Regions from separate parts of the Homo sapiens genome. Here all the other regions are linked to region 5. Evidence: promoter capture Hi-C in 16 types of primary human blood cells and fetal thymus (Javierre and others, 2016). All regions are on one chromosome and are shown on one strand. Each heading gives the region's core, a stretch centred on a gene start or on the middle of the fragment in contact. The rest is flanking DNA. Distances are from core to core; before and after follow the strand shown.

Region 1 (2,700 bases), core at 88-2,587, 330 kb after region 5:
GATGTTCTGTTTCTACAACTTTTCATGAACTGAAGTGGATCTCCCAGCTCCTTGTGTGAAGCAGAAAACTGTAGTTCATCAAAAATAATTGGGTCAGAGAAGTGGTGGTTCACATTCCCAAATATGTACATCTGGATTAGGGTTTTAACCTCAGAACAGAAGGTGATGGGCATTGAAATTTTGGTATATCCGGGGTTTTGGTACTGAAAACTTCAGTTGAATATTGGGGTCAAAATCCACCCTGTTCGTATAGACTTAGAAGTGGCCCTGAAGTTCATTGTCTTAAATGGTTGCTAAGGGGATGATTATAGGGATTTTCCCACACTTGGAGAAGAGTCATCCTGGAGCACTGGGATAAATATAGAGTGAGGGAAAGTGTGTTTCCTTTTAAAATTAGAAATACAATATAACAACATTGGAGGGAGTTTAGAAATAGAGGGGTATCTTCACCTATAATCACCACCCTAACAAAACAGCCCTGAATGTTTATGTAATCCTTCGACTTCTTGGCAATTTGCTTTCATATTTTTACTCCACTGTAACTACAAGCTTTTCTTATTTTACATTTCAGTTTTGCTAATTATTATTTTAAATGGCTGCATATTAGTCCCTTGAGTGGTGGCATTATAATTTGCCCACTTATTTTCCCATTCTCAGACATTTCAGGTTACTTCCAATTTCTTACTATTAGAGAAAAAAGTATTTTTAATCTCTAGGCTGATAAAAGGCTTCAGTCCACACTTTAGTTTTTTCTTTCTTCTTTCTTTCCTTTCTTTCTTTCTTTCTTTCTTTCTTTCTTTCTTTCTTTCTTTCTTTCCTTTCTTTCTTTCTTTGACAAGGTCTGCCTCTATTGCTTAGGCTTGACTGCAGTGGTGTGATCTCAGCTCATTGCAACCTCTGCGTCCCCGGCTCAAGCCTTCCTGCCACCTCAACCTCCCAAGTAGCTGGGACTACAGGTGTGCACCACCATGCCTGGCTAATTTTCTGTATTTTTTGTGAAGATGAGGTTTCATCATGTTGCCCAGGCTGGTCTCGAACTCATGAGCTCAAGCAATCCTTCTGCCTCAGCCTTCCAAAGTGCTGGGATTACAGGTGTGAGCCACTGCACTCAGCCTAGTTTTTTCTTATTAAAGTAAATTACTCTGTCACATGGCTTCCCTCTGTCAGCAGAGAAACCTATTTCTCTATTTTACTAGCACTAAAGGCAATAGTATTTATTGCAAAGTGTGTGGGATAGTGTGTGACAAATAATGAGGGCTATGTCAATGTAAGTTATTATTATAACTAGGATTCCTGGTCACCAATACCAGAAAAAGACCTGTAGATAAAGAACCTATTGAGAAGATACTGGATCACCCACAGAGAATTAGTATCAACGAATATGGAGCAGCCAAGCGGGGCTGGCAGCAGAACTGTAGCCTAAATCGTGCCATAGGACTTGTCTGGTTTCTGGACACCTCTGCTGAAACTGCTACCACCAATGTCCCTGGACTGGATTGACAGTACTCCATCCCCACCAGGAAGAATTCTACCCCTTGTGTTTTTTCATTATCTACTTAAGATTCAAGATAGCTGAATCTAAGTTATGTTCCTAATTCTTATGCATCTATAGTGGGAGATAGGGCTCTGCGTCCCACCAGGACTCTGACAGTGGGGAGAACACCCTCAAAGGGGAAGGTTGTTCAAGTTCCGGGGGGTCAAGTGGTAAATATCTTCACTTGCTCAGACTGCCTCTCACCTACAATATAGCTCAGTCAATAAAGGAGATTTCTACTCTACTGATTGCCTGAAGGTAAAAGAGCTTTTGGGATAAGCAGCAGGTTGAATCTTTGTTATCGAAGGGCTCTTTTTGAGGGGGAAAAATGGCAACAGAAGGGAGGTTCCCTGCACCAGCAAAAATGCCCATGAGAAGCCTTCTGTTGCCATTTTTCCCCTTCAAAAAGAGTCCTTGGATAACAAAGGTTCAACTTGAACTATGACTTATATCAATGATGGGGTTACTTTGTTTCCTGGGGTATTAGATCCCGGTACAATTAGTTAAATGTCTCCTCCCCTCCCCACCTCTAAAATAAGAACTGAAAGCAGAGACGAAGTCAGAGTAGAAAATAAATGACATGTTTCTTATGAAAGCTTACTAACAATTAGGAAAAAATTTTTTTCTTTTTTTTGAGACGGAGTCTCGCTGTCACCCAAGCTGGAGTGCAGTGGCACCATCTCGGCTCACTTCAACCTCCGCCTCCCAGGTTCAAGCGATTCTCCTGCCTCAGCCTCCCGAGCAGCTGGGACTACAGGCATACACCACCACACCCAGCTAATTTTGTATTTTTAGTAGAGAAGGCGTTTCACCATATGAGCTATGCTGGTCTCGAACTCCTGACCTTGTGATCCGCCTGCCTCGGCCTCCCAAAGTGCTGGGATTACAGGCATGAGCCACCACGCCCAGCCAACAATTAGGAAATTTGACCCACTCCCGAACTTGAACAGTACTGTACTGACTCAGAGCTCTAGCAAATATACAAATTAAGAGGAATAGACTGCAACACAGTTACATAATTTACTTAAAACTCTCTCAGTGGCTTCTCGTTAGTTTAGAACAAAATCCCATATCGTTCTTCCTGACCTATCAGACCCTACATGTTCTAGCCCTGGCCTTTCTATCCAGATCCTGTTTAATACCCTCTAACCCCAGTTCTTGGCTTT
Region 2 (2,700 bases), core at 38-2,537, 490 kb after region 5:
TTTTGTGTTTTTGGTAGAGACAGCATTTCTTCATGTTGGCCAGGCTGGTCTTGATCTCCTGACCTTGTGATCTGCCTGCCTCGGCCTCCCGAAGTGCTGGGATTACAGGCGTGAACCACTGCGCCAAGCCTCAAGTGCTATTTTAAAAGATGGTGGTGGTTTGGGGGAGGATTGAAAACATTTATCTACACAGCTAAAGGAGCTGGCAAAGAATAAAGCTATGGTTCTGGATCCGGTTCCCCAAGGGGCACTTAACTGCCTGTCTCTGGGTTAATGCATGCGGGGCACACACAGTGCCTCTGCTAGAAACGATGCAAGCTGAGATTCTCTAGGCTGTTTTGCAAAGACTCTCCATGTCTCTGTTTTGGAATATGTTTGTATCACAGGCTTGGTTCTAGCCGAGAGGCTGTGTAGAAGCGGGTGAATTTGACTTAGATGTTGCCCAATGTTCCAAGGGATCTTTGGCTCTTGGCCCCCAGAACAGAATCAGATAAGCCCACTCATAAGCAACTTTGAGAGAGTCCAAGTCTATGCCTTCAAAGGGTAAGGAGCTGTTTCAGGGAAAGAAGGAACCTAGGCCAGGCACAGTGGCTCACGCCTGTAATCCCAGTGCTTTGGGAGGCCAAAGCGGGCTGATCAAGACGTCAGGAGTTCAAGACCAGCTTGGCCAACATGATGAAACTCTGTCTCTACTAAAAATACAAAAAATTAGCCGGGTGTGGTGGCAGGCACCTGTAATCCCAGCTACTTGGGAGGCTGAGGCAGGGGAACTGGTTGAACCCGGGAGGCGGAGGTTTCAGTGAGCCAAGGCATTTCAAAAAAAAAAAGGAAACTAAAGGATTTGCCAGTTGGGACAAAATGATGTCTGAGCAGCCTGTCGGGATTAGAAGCACTTCCTAGAAGTCCTGGAACCCCGGACTTACTCCTCATCCCCACCCCATCACTTAGACACTAGGCAGGAAATATCCAGTTGGATGCCAAAGTGACCCAATTGTCCCTCCTCAATTGTCTCTCTAAAAGCCAAGCAAGATGAGGGGAACGGCTTTGGACTCGGGCTGACTTGGACCACATCCCATCTCTGCCGCCATCTGAGCTCTGTGACCGTGAAGTGCTCCTACCACCCTTCTGAGCTTTTGTTTTCTTCACCTGTAAAAGTGCAGGAAGAATACTTACCTGTCACCAGAATATTCCAAGAATTAGAATTAATGTTTGGAAAGTTGTTGACACCTAGCAGGTACTCAAAAAATGGTGGCTATTACTACTACATTCTACAGTCTCTGCGCTACTTTGAAAGGACTTGCTTCTAGGGGAGCTTATTTCTAATGGGGAGATATTTTGGTTTTGAAGTAAAATCTATACCGTGTTAGATGGGAGGTGTGCTTTAGAGAAAAAATAAAGCAGGGATGGGAGACTGAGATGGCTGGGGAGCCTGAGGAAAGCCCCATTTATAGGTCTAAGAATGAGAGAGAGTTTCTTTCTTAAATTCCCTCTCCCTACTTTATCAAAGAGATTTTACTTCCAAATAAGTGTAAACGGGAAAAGGGAACAGAGCCTGAAAGACACTCAAAACAGACACTCAAAAATGCTGTCCTAGGGAGTCAGCTGGGGTGTCATCACTGACGTGGGACTTAGGGTGTTGAGCTGGAGTCCTGGTTTGTCATTTGAAAAGAGAAATCCTGATCAAGTTGTTGTACTGCTCTTTGACTCTATTTCCTTAACTGTAAATTAGAGGTAAGAATCCCTGTCTCACGTGCACGAGCAGGAGAGGCTTTCTGGTCTGTTGGGATTCTCAGATTCACAAGGATCAGGACGTGGCCATTGAAAGCTGCCATCCCAAGAGGCAAAACTATGGAAGATAGGAAGGAAATCCGTACTTACCTCACTCTGCTCCCTCCTCCTTTCCGTGCCTGCGTGCACACACACACGCATGCACACACCCTGAGGTTGTCAGGGGACTAGAGGTGTTGTCCTTGAAAGTGAAAGTCATTCCAAGGCAAAGGAAATGTACTGGTGTTGAGAAGGTTCGGTAGGGCCCCTTCCAACGGGAATGGCTGACTCGCCATGTCCTCTAAAGATGCTGCCTTGATTCGTGGATTTCAGCATTGTCCAAGCTCTGTGGCACCATGGACTGGTTGTATGTCACTGACAAGCAAATGCTTAGTCCTGTGCTGTATATATTTACTGTACCATATAAATAATAAACACTAATAACTCACTTCATCCTTTACGAGTTCCCCATCCATTTCCTGCCATTTCTGGAACTTTCATCACATGCTAGATGGTGTTGCTGACGTTTATTACTGGTTGCTCATATAGGGTGAGAAATCATTGTTGCCTCATGAATAGCTAGCATTTTTTTCCTCTTTCATTGAAAAGTTATTCTAACTCAATCTAAATTTCCAACAACCAGGAAGTATTTAAATAAGTCATCTTCCAACCATCTCATGAAATTACATAACCACTAAGAATCATGATTTTAAAAGCTATTCAACAATACAGGGAGAAAAATGCTCACATCACAATATTAGGTAAAAAAAGCAATGCAGAAAATCATCTATCCAGCGTGATCCGATTTTGCCCATACATTTATATGTAGATTTATGTGGGCACATTAAAAGACGTGGCAAAAAATGTTATTTCTGCGTGAGATGGTGGTGGGTGATTTTTATTTTCCACATTTTACAAATTTTCCACAGTGGA
Region 3 (2,758 bases), core at 259-2,758, 270 kb after region 5:
CCTTTTGAGCGTTTGTTTCCTCCCCATTATATAAAGGGGGGATATGCTTTTAAAACTCGAGTGGGAAAGCTTCATCTTCTGACATTTCCTTTATTAGTTATTTTGCCAGCAGTGAAGACATGTGCAAAATACAGGTTTTAAAAATAAAATGCACCCTAAATTGCCTCCTTAATACAGCCATGCATGTATACACTGGCCCAGAAGCCAGGCATCTTACATACCCCACTTTCACTCCTACCTTACTCAGTATGAGGGAAAGTATTTAGACTTTTAAAACCTCAGAAGCAGGGACTGCAGTTGCACTTTGCTTTATATGTCTGTAAGGAGCCGCAGTAGAGAGTAATTATACTAAATACTCAGATTCCAGGCAGACTGAGACCTGGTGGCTAAGTCTGATGTGCTGTTGCTATTGTTTATATTTGTTCGTTATATTTGTAGATTGATTTCCTTGACCTAATAAACTCACTTGTTTTTGTCTTGTTATACCATATGTACTTTTATGAACCACCTCAGATCCATTTTTGAAGCAAGAAGAGATAAATAAATTAGTGTAGAACTTGATAGTTCACAAAACACTTACACATCTCATTTTATTCTGACGAGAGTCTTATGAGGGAAGAATCATTCCCCCATGATAGATGAGGACACTGAGGCTTAACCAGCTGAATTGACTTTTCTGAGGTTACGTGGAGAGTGAATGACAGAGGCAGGTATCAAACTGTCACTCTCTGCCTCTGTGTCCAGTGCCCACAAGTCCTGGCCACCTCTGTTAAGGGACCAATGTAGAACCTGTGTGTTCTAAGGTATTTATAAGTTGTTGTTTTTTGTTTTTGTTTGTTTGTTTTTTGAGACAGTTACTAAAGTTTTAAAGGTTTTTTTGTAGAGATGAGGTCTCACTGTATTTTATTGTCCAGGCTGGTCTTGAACTCCCAGGCTCCCACTTCGGCCTCCCAGAGTGTGGGGATTACAGGTGTGAGCTACCCCGTGCCTGGCAAGTTTTCATTTAAATTGGCAATGTTTTAAAGAAAAATGAAAAAATCTATTAGGAGTATTCTGAAATGTTAATGCTTATTTCTGTGATCCTGAGCAATACAAATTGTGACTTTTCAGGAAATGTCAGAAATTTTTAAAAGGTTTAAAATAAATCTTTAGTCATCTGCTAAGGGTCAAAGTATACTACATCAGTTGTTTTCAGAAAACAAACAGTGCCTGATGGTTTGGTCTTGGCAAAATGTGAAAAATATAAACTGATTAAACTTATTTTAATGAGTATTTACCTGCAATTTGTCTCAAATCCAGGTGTAATCGAGATTCATTATCTTGCCCCTTCTGTCTGGGAACTGTGAGCACTGAGCACAGGCCTGGCAGGCTGGGAGAAACGGAATTAGGAAGGGAACTGTTGAGCCAGGAATTCCAATCTTATGTGTCTATAGGATCAATTTAGCTGCTGACTCAGAAGGAACAAAATATAGACAGTGGCTAAGCCCAACAAAGAGACGGAGAGGCAAGTAGAGGGGAAAGAATCTCAAAGTCCAGCTCTCCTCGGTACCTCTTGGAGCCTCAGAGCAAATCACTTCTGCTGCTGCTGCCTTATTATGACCCTGGGCTTCCCATGGGCCTAAGGGTGCCTTTTGGCAGGAGTCTCCATAATCTGCCAGAGTGTTTTGCTAGCCTCACTGTTTCCCTCCTTGCAGCGTTGATCCAGTGGGATTACAGCAAATCACCCTGGCCTGTGCAGGAACCGTGGAAGTTGTCACACCTTTCCCAGATCCGTTTGCCTACACAGAAATCATTGTTTTAGACAAGGCATTAATGGAAAAAGTAGGCAGCCAGCCAGCCAGCCAGCTATCCATCTCCTGCATCACACAGTCTCTTCCTCCCAGAATCTGAGAAAAGAAAATCAAGTGGAAAAATTTCAGCTCAAGAAGTAAGATATGGTTTTGGTTTTGGCCCTTGCTTCAGAACCCCAGGTATAAAATGAGAAATATGAATACCTTGATTTGGTTTTCAAGGTTGAGAATAATATGATTTTTTTGTGGTCTGATTTTTCTTTAAACCATTACTCAGTGAAACCTCAATGTCTAAAAGTTTATATACCCTACAGCCCTGTAGTTTTAAGTCTAAAGGAGGTCACCATGCTATGCAGAGTATCTTGCAGCATTTTTTTTCAGAAGACAGATCTGGGATACAGCAGCATCTGAACATTTACATGTCAAGTGTGTAAATGCTTTGGAAGCCTCAAAGGAAAAATCCCTGACACACCTGGCATGCCTGGAACCTGATCTCTCGTTCTTCCTCGCTGTTTCACATCGCACTGACATGGCGCACAGGGGGAGGCTCAGAAAGAAAGAAAACAAAACCCACTGCTTGAGAATTTAGATTGCATAGTAAGCTCATTCAAGTAATAATCAACAAAAGCAGGCAAAATCACACATAGATTCACATATTTCCAAGAGCCATCCTTGGGCATTTTCAAAGGGCATGAATATACAACTAGCTTTACAATGTAGCATTTGGTTAAAAGCAGTTAATCATATTACCCCTAAATTTTTATGCTCAGAAGTCTCACACGAATGATATTTGACTTTACTTCAAAGCCATTCAACCTGAAAGATTTCCAAGCATGTCACATGTCACATTTAGCTACTTTTTCTCTGAAGGGCTTTCGGCCAACTGGCTCACCACATTCATTGCCTAGAAAAGCAGAGGCCAAGAAATGCTGAGCCAGTCCACAAGCAAATAGGTAGGCTCCTGAAAT
Region 4 (2,700 bases), core at 183-2,682, 350 kb after region 5:
ATCAAGCAATCCTACCACCTCAGCCTCATGAGTAGCTGGACTACAGGTGTGCACCACCAAGCCCGGCTAATTTTTGTATTTTTTTGTAGAGATGAAGTTTCGGCATGTTTCCCAGGCTGGTCTCAAACTCCTGGACTCAAGCGATCCACCCGCCTCAGCCTCCCAAAGTGCTGGGATTAATGGTGTGAGTCACTGAGCCCAGCCTGCCACTGTTACTTTGGCTTTTGTAGGAGCCAACTAACTGGTATTCTAACTAGCACAGGTATCATTGTTGATTCTCTGGCAGACATATTTCAGAATTCCAAGAGACCAGATTTGTAGTGTTCTACAGGAAGCTGTGCTTTTGTTTGCATTGACATTCCTTTTGCTTATTCCACAGCAGACATGGAAGCAAGACACAGGTCCAGGATAGGGCGGGAAAGTGGCTTTCTCAGTGACATTTCAGTGTGAATGAGACTGACCCAGGGAGTTTGTTAAAATGCAGATTACTTAGCTCTCTCCTTTGGGATGTGAATTTGACAATTCTGGCCTGACCCAGAGAATCAGCATTTGAAAAGTATTCCACGTCATTCTGATGGCAGCCCTTGGGCCACACTGAAAAAAAAACTCTGGTCTATAAGTGGAGCCCTTCAATATGCGGGACTCCTGGGAAATACTTCAGTGAATTAACTCAGGAAGATTCTTAACTGCTACAGAGATGCTGTTGATGGTGGTGTTTAGCAGTCTAGGAACAGCGCCTTGGAAATGAATACTTGGAAATATTTGATGGGACACTCAGTGAAATGCAGACATTTGGAAAGTTACAAAGCTTTACTCTGGATGGCCTGTAAATACCACACACATGCACTAATTAGATAACCAGACATAATTAAACTATTTGGAGACATGATTGAAAAGTAAATATTTTAAGGGACAAGAGGGCAAATTTTAAACACTCCATTCTTCACGCTCATTTCTTTAGTTCACAATGTTGACTGAGAAGTCGGGGTAATTACAAGTGGTAATAATGCTTGATAATTACATATTTGCCTCTGTTTACATTGGACATGAAATTAGGAAACTCACTTCCTAAGTGAACCCTTGTGAGCATCCTTTCACAGAGAGTGAAGTTCATATCACAATCAAAGCAATAAGAGGGAGTAATTGTGACACTAACCACAGGAGGAAAACAATCAGGGATAAACTTTCAGCCCAAAGGAGTGAGATGGGGACTGAAGAGAGGATAAAAGTGCCAACCAGCCAACCAGATAAATAATAACATTTTTTTTGAGTATCTACATTGTGCAAGGGCCCTGTGCTAGGAACTATGTGGGGGTGGGGCAGGGTCAGAGAGACACTGAAGATGGAGAAACTTAAAATGTACCTGGGAGCCAGGACGCATCTGAACGCAAAGTTCCACTGTAAGCGATGTGGGAGTAGTGCCAAATCAGCACTTCAGGGACTCCAAAGATGGAGACGCTGGAGAGGGTGCAGACAGTCAGGAGGAGCTTCTTCAAGTAGGAAGTCAATCAACACTTATGAGCCGTTGTTGGTGTTGGGGATGCAAAGATGGCCAGGAAGGAGTCCCTCTCCTCAAGGGGCTTCCATTCTGGTGGAGGGAGACCGATCTCAGAATACTATTACTGGATAGAAATATTGAATTTGTTAATCAATAATAGTAATAATTGATTGCTGTTATTGTATATTGTTGGCCAGTTGGGGTGGCTCACATCTGTAATCCCAGCACTTTTGGGAGGTGGGAGGATTGCTTGAGGCCAAGAGTTGGAGACCAGCCTGGGCACCATAGCAAGACCCTGTCCCTACAAAAAATTTAAAAATTAGCTGGGCATGGTGGTGTGTGTCTGTAGTCCTACTACTTGGGAAGCTGAAGAGGGAGGATCACTTGAGCTCAGGATAGGAGTTCCAGGCTGCAGTGAGCTGTGATGGTGCCACTAAACTCTAGCCTGGGCAACAGAGGGAGACCCTGTCTCATGCATATGTGTGCGTGTGTGTATAGTTAATCACAGATAATCAATCCATATATCAGATATTTTCTGATATGGATAAGAGCTACAAAAAAGCTTTGATAAGATAAAATGGTGGAAGTGAGTGGAGCTGAGTGGGGTCAGATGGTGGTCCCAAAAGGCCTCTCTGAAGAGATGAGGGAGTCTGAGGCTTGACCCTAACCAGGAGAAAATGGCAGGTGTTGGGTAGCTAGGGAAAGCATTTGCAGGCTCAGTGTGCCCTCTAGATAGTGAGGAGGCCAGCATGGCTGCAGAGTGGTGAGGGAGGGGACAGTGGTGGAGAAGGGACTGGAGAATAGCTAGGGCCTGGAGGCTGGGGAAGGAATTTCAGGGTTTATTCTAAGGATGCAGGCTATTGTGGAGGGTCTTGGGGCAGGAGTGACATGATATAATTTGTGTGTTTAAAAAGAAACCATTCTGGCAGCTGTGAGGCAGTAAGCCCTGGGGCTCAGGCATGGAGCTGGAAGATCAGCAAGGGGCTGTTTTGGTGGCTCAGGGTGGGCCTGGAAGGATGTAACTAGGTGGATGTAACTAGGTGAGGCTAAGGGGAGCACGCCACAGGGTGGGGACCCAGAGCATGAGCATTGAGGACAGGAGCCAGCAGGGTGTGTGGGGAAACTGAGGCCACCAGTCAGATAGGGGTGGCAGGGGGCGAGAAGAGAAGGCAACAGGCGAAGATGGGCAGTGCCCTCTTGTT
Region 5 (2,736 bases), core at 201-2,700:
AAAAAAATTCAAGACGTTTCTATCTGATATTGGACTGCTTTGTCACTTTTTCTTTTGGTCTTCCTAGTGCTTATTTACTACAGGATAAAATTAGCACATGCTATTTAATGTGTTCATTTTAAGTACTATGTTGTTTTCTATGTGTTAATTTTATCTCCTCCAGGTGAGACCATTTTTATTACCATAGGTCTAAAATGACAAGATTAAGTCCAAACAGACAGTAATCACTCAACAGCTATTTATTGAGTAACTTAAAGATTCAATATGAAAGCAACCTTGATCAAAGCTTTCCAGTTGATATATTGTGAAACAGGGTTTTTTCCTAAACATGATTCTAAAAAACAAGCAAACAAACAAAAATCCTCCCCAAATGAAAAACTCCAGTCACTATTTAGCAATACTAATTTCAATTTATCAAACAGAATCAGCCCAAAAATTTCAACAGGTCAGTGAGATTTAAAACAATTCGATGGCAAGAATTTCAATGAGGTTTGGCTCTAATTAAAAGGTATCACAGATCACTGTCAAAGTCAATAACTCAGTAGTGCGGTAATGATTTGGGAGTCCTTTTCAATTTAGACATTTGTCAATCATGATTGCCTTTAAACATCAGTTACCCACTGTCCCTGCTCAGTTTTGAAAAAAAAATTAAATACAAAAATACAACTCAAAATACATGTTTTTTCCACACATAAAATTGGTATTTTAGTAATAAACTCTCGATTCAGGGTTCATAAAATAAAGTAGGTATACTTCTAATTCTTCCTAGCAGTTTTTTGGGGGAAAGAAACCCTAAGTATTTTCTGTTATTTGCAGCTGCTTTAACAGCAAACGACAATTAAATGTGTGAACAAGGTTGTCAGAGTAACACTTGTCATTTACACCGCTTAGGAAAGACATCCAAGACTTCCAGAAACACTAATTAAAATTAACAAAAGCTTCTTATCGGAACTTGTCAGAGAGCTATAGTTTGTCAGACACAGGAAAACCAGATAGCCTCAAAGTTCAAGAGTTTTCGCTCTAAGGTTTAATTCCAAACCACCTACCACTAGGCACTAACGAACTAAGCCCAGACGCTCAGCAACCAACTCATTAAGGTAAGAGATCCCATCCTTTCCATATAACACAAAATTAAGAAAAAGACATCGTGGGGAAGGCGGAGTGAATTTTCTATCAGAAATCAGAAGATAAATGAGCAGGAAAAAAGTCTATCCTCACACACAGCGGAGAAAGGTGCTAGCAATTGCTTGATAAGCCCTAAGGGTTTATTGTTTCACCAACCTTTTCTTTAACTCAATGTGAATGAAGGCACTCAAAAGGAGAAGAACGTTACGTGATATTACCTACCTCGGGCCCCAAAGAACCCTGGAGACCCTCAACCAGGACACAGGTGGGCCTTTCTCACCTGGGCCCCGCCGAAGTCGACCGTCCTTTCGTAGGGCGCACTTTTCAGCAATACGCCTTCCGATTGGTTGGCTCGGGACTGACGTCTCAGTCCTATTGGTTACGAGAGCCGCGGTTGGGGCGAGGAGGCGGGAGTTTGGCACTGGTTCTGATAGGACGGGTGTTTGCGTTCCCAGAGTTCCTATTGGGTTAACACTGGAGGCTCTAAGATGGCGGCAGTGGCAACCTGCGGTAGTGTTGCCGCGAGTACTGGGTCTGCAGTGGCGACAGCCAGCAAGAGCAACGTCACCAGTTTCCAGAGGAGGGGTCCTAGAGCCAGCGTGACCAACGACAGCGGCCCTCGACTGGTGTCCATTGCGGGCACGCGACCGTCGGTGCGGAATGGACAGCTGCTGGTATCAACCGGGCTCCCAGCCCTAGACCAGCTCTTAGGTCGGTTCAGAGCGGAGATCTGGGCTCAGCCGAGGGGAAACTTAGGGAGGGGACCTGTCGGGGAAGCCACTTTGACCCCACATCTCTTTCTGACCCCTAAACCTTCGGAGGAGGAGAGAATAGCCTGGTCTGATTGAGATGGAGGGGAATACGGGTTGTGTGGAGACTTCTGAGCGCTGTTAACTAAACATGTTTTAGTGCCCTCGCTCTCTATTTCATTCCCTGCCCTCCAACCCCTTTTCATATTACGGAGGAATTCGTACATGCTTTTTACCCTGAAATGCTTTCTAGTCAAGGGAAGACATTAATTTATGGAGATGGTTTGGCTTTCATTCAGGATACCTCCCTTCTGCTTTCTCCAGGCAGCTCACGGTTTAGACCAGCCTGCAAAAGTTTTTATAATTGTGAGAGACAGACTTCATTAGAAGATGCTGGAAAAAAATGATTTCCCCTCTTTGACCGTCAGACTGCCTGTTCTCTGGTTCTAAATCTTAAAACATTTTGGCTTTAAGAGAGCGAATGTTAAAGGCTTATGTTGACACATAATCCTTATAAAGTATTTTGAGCCTGTCGTTGATATTTAGATAGTGTCTGCGTTAAATCTGTGTATATATTTTTTATTTTTTCTATATACATTTTGCTTCCCAGTATTGATTGCTGCTACATTCCATACGACATCTTTAAATTTAACTCACATTTTAACGAGAAAAGTCTAGTTCTTAGGCTTTCCTTTAAAATCTCTGGAATTTTTTATGAGAAGCCTGCTGAAGAATATGCTTGTTTCATAACTGTTATATTCAAAGGAATGACCAGATTAAGTTGGTAGGACAGATTTGCTGTGTTAATAAAGCTTCTAGATTAATTTCTGAATGCTGTTTCATTAAAACCCCGTCTGTGTTT

Evidence for each region. Contacts are between HindIII fragments. The CHiCAGO score rates a contact against its expected background, and 5 or more counts as called.
Region 1: a contact is called between a fragment that was not itself captured here and the fragment with the promoter of IMMP1L in region 5, in 1 of 17 cell types (endothelial precursors). The highest score is 5.2, in endothelial precursors.
Region 2: a contact is called between a fragment that was not itself captured here and the fragment with the promoter of IMMP1L in region 5, in 2 of 17 cell types (total CD4 T cells and total CD8 T cells). The highest score is 5.6, in total CD4 T cells.
Region 3: a fragment that was not itself captured here is called in contact with the fragment with the promoter of IMMP1L in region 5 in 1 of 17 cell types (endothelial precursors); the score reaches 5.1 in endothelial precursors.
Region 4: a fragment that was not itself captured here is called in contact with the fragment with the promoter of IMMP1L in region 5 in 1 of 17 cell types (endothelial precursors); the score reaches 5.9 in endothelial precursors.

What each region holds. Positions count from the first base shown.
Region 1 is chr11:31,840,215-31,842,914 of GRCh38, forward strand. All of the region lies in intron 1 of PAX6-AS1 (PAX6 antisense RNA 1), which reads left to right. Among named protein-coding and RNA genes, the nearest start is that of PAUPAR, 15 kb to the left of the region's middle. The HindIII fragment of the contact is 1,581 bases long and covers 548-2,128 here.
Region 2 is chr11:32,000,186-32,002,885 of GRCh38, forward strand. LOC124902657 (a long non-coding RNA gene) reads left to right here. Exons shown (of 2, transcript XR_007062644.1): 2 at 1,021-2,220. Among named protein-coding and RNA genes, the nearest start is that of LINC03031, 40 kb to the right of the region's middle. The HindIII fragment of the contact is 6,759 bases long and covers 1-2,700 here.
Region 3 is chr11:31,778,019-31,780,776 of GRCh38, forward strand. All of the region lies in intron 9 of ELP4 (elongator acetyltransferase complex subunit 4), which reads left to right. Among named protein-coding and RNA genes, the nearest start is that of ELP4-AS1, 12 kb to the left of the region's middle. RefSeq lists an enhancer at 1,221-2,420. The HindIII fragment of the contact is 2,883 bases long and covers 68-2,758 here.
Region 4 is chr11:31,863,169-31,865,868 of GRCh38, forward strand. All of the region lies in intron 1 of PAX6-AS1 (PAX6 antisense RNA 1), which reads left to right. Among named protein-coding and RNA genes, the nearest start is that of PAUPAR, 38 kb to the left of the region's middle. The HindIII fragment of the contact is 1,252 bases long and covers 807-2,058 here.
Region 5 is chr11:31,508,172-31,510,907 of GRCh38, forward strand. IMMP1L (inner mitochondrial membrane peptidase subunit 1) reads right to left here and starts at 1,451. Exons shown (of 6, transcript NM_001304274.2): 1 at 1,348-1,451. ELP4 (elongator acetyltransferase complex subunit 4) reads left to right here and starts at 1,596. Exons shown (of 10, transcript NM_019040.5): 1 at 1,596-1,836. The coding sequence starts at 1,614. RefSeq lists enhancers at 1,589-2,478, 1,611-1,900. The HindIII fragment of the contact is 1,748 bases long and covers 937-2,684 here.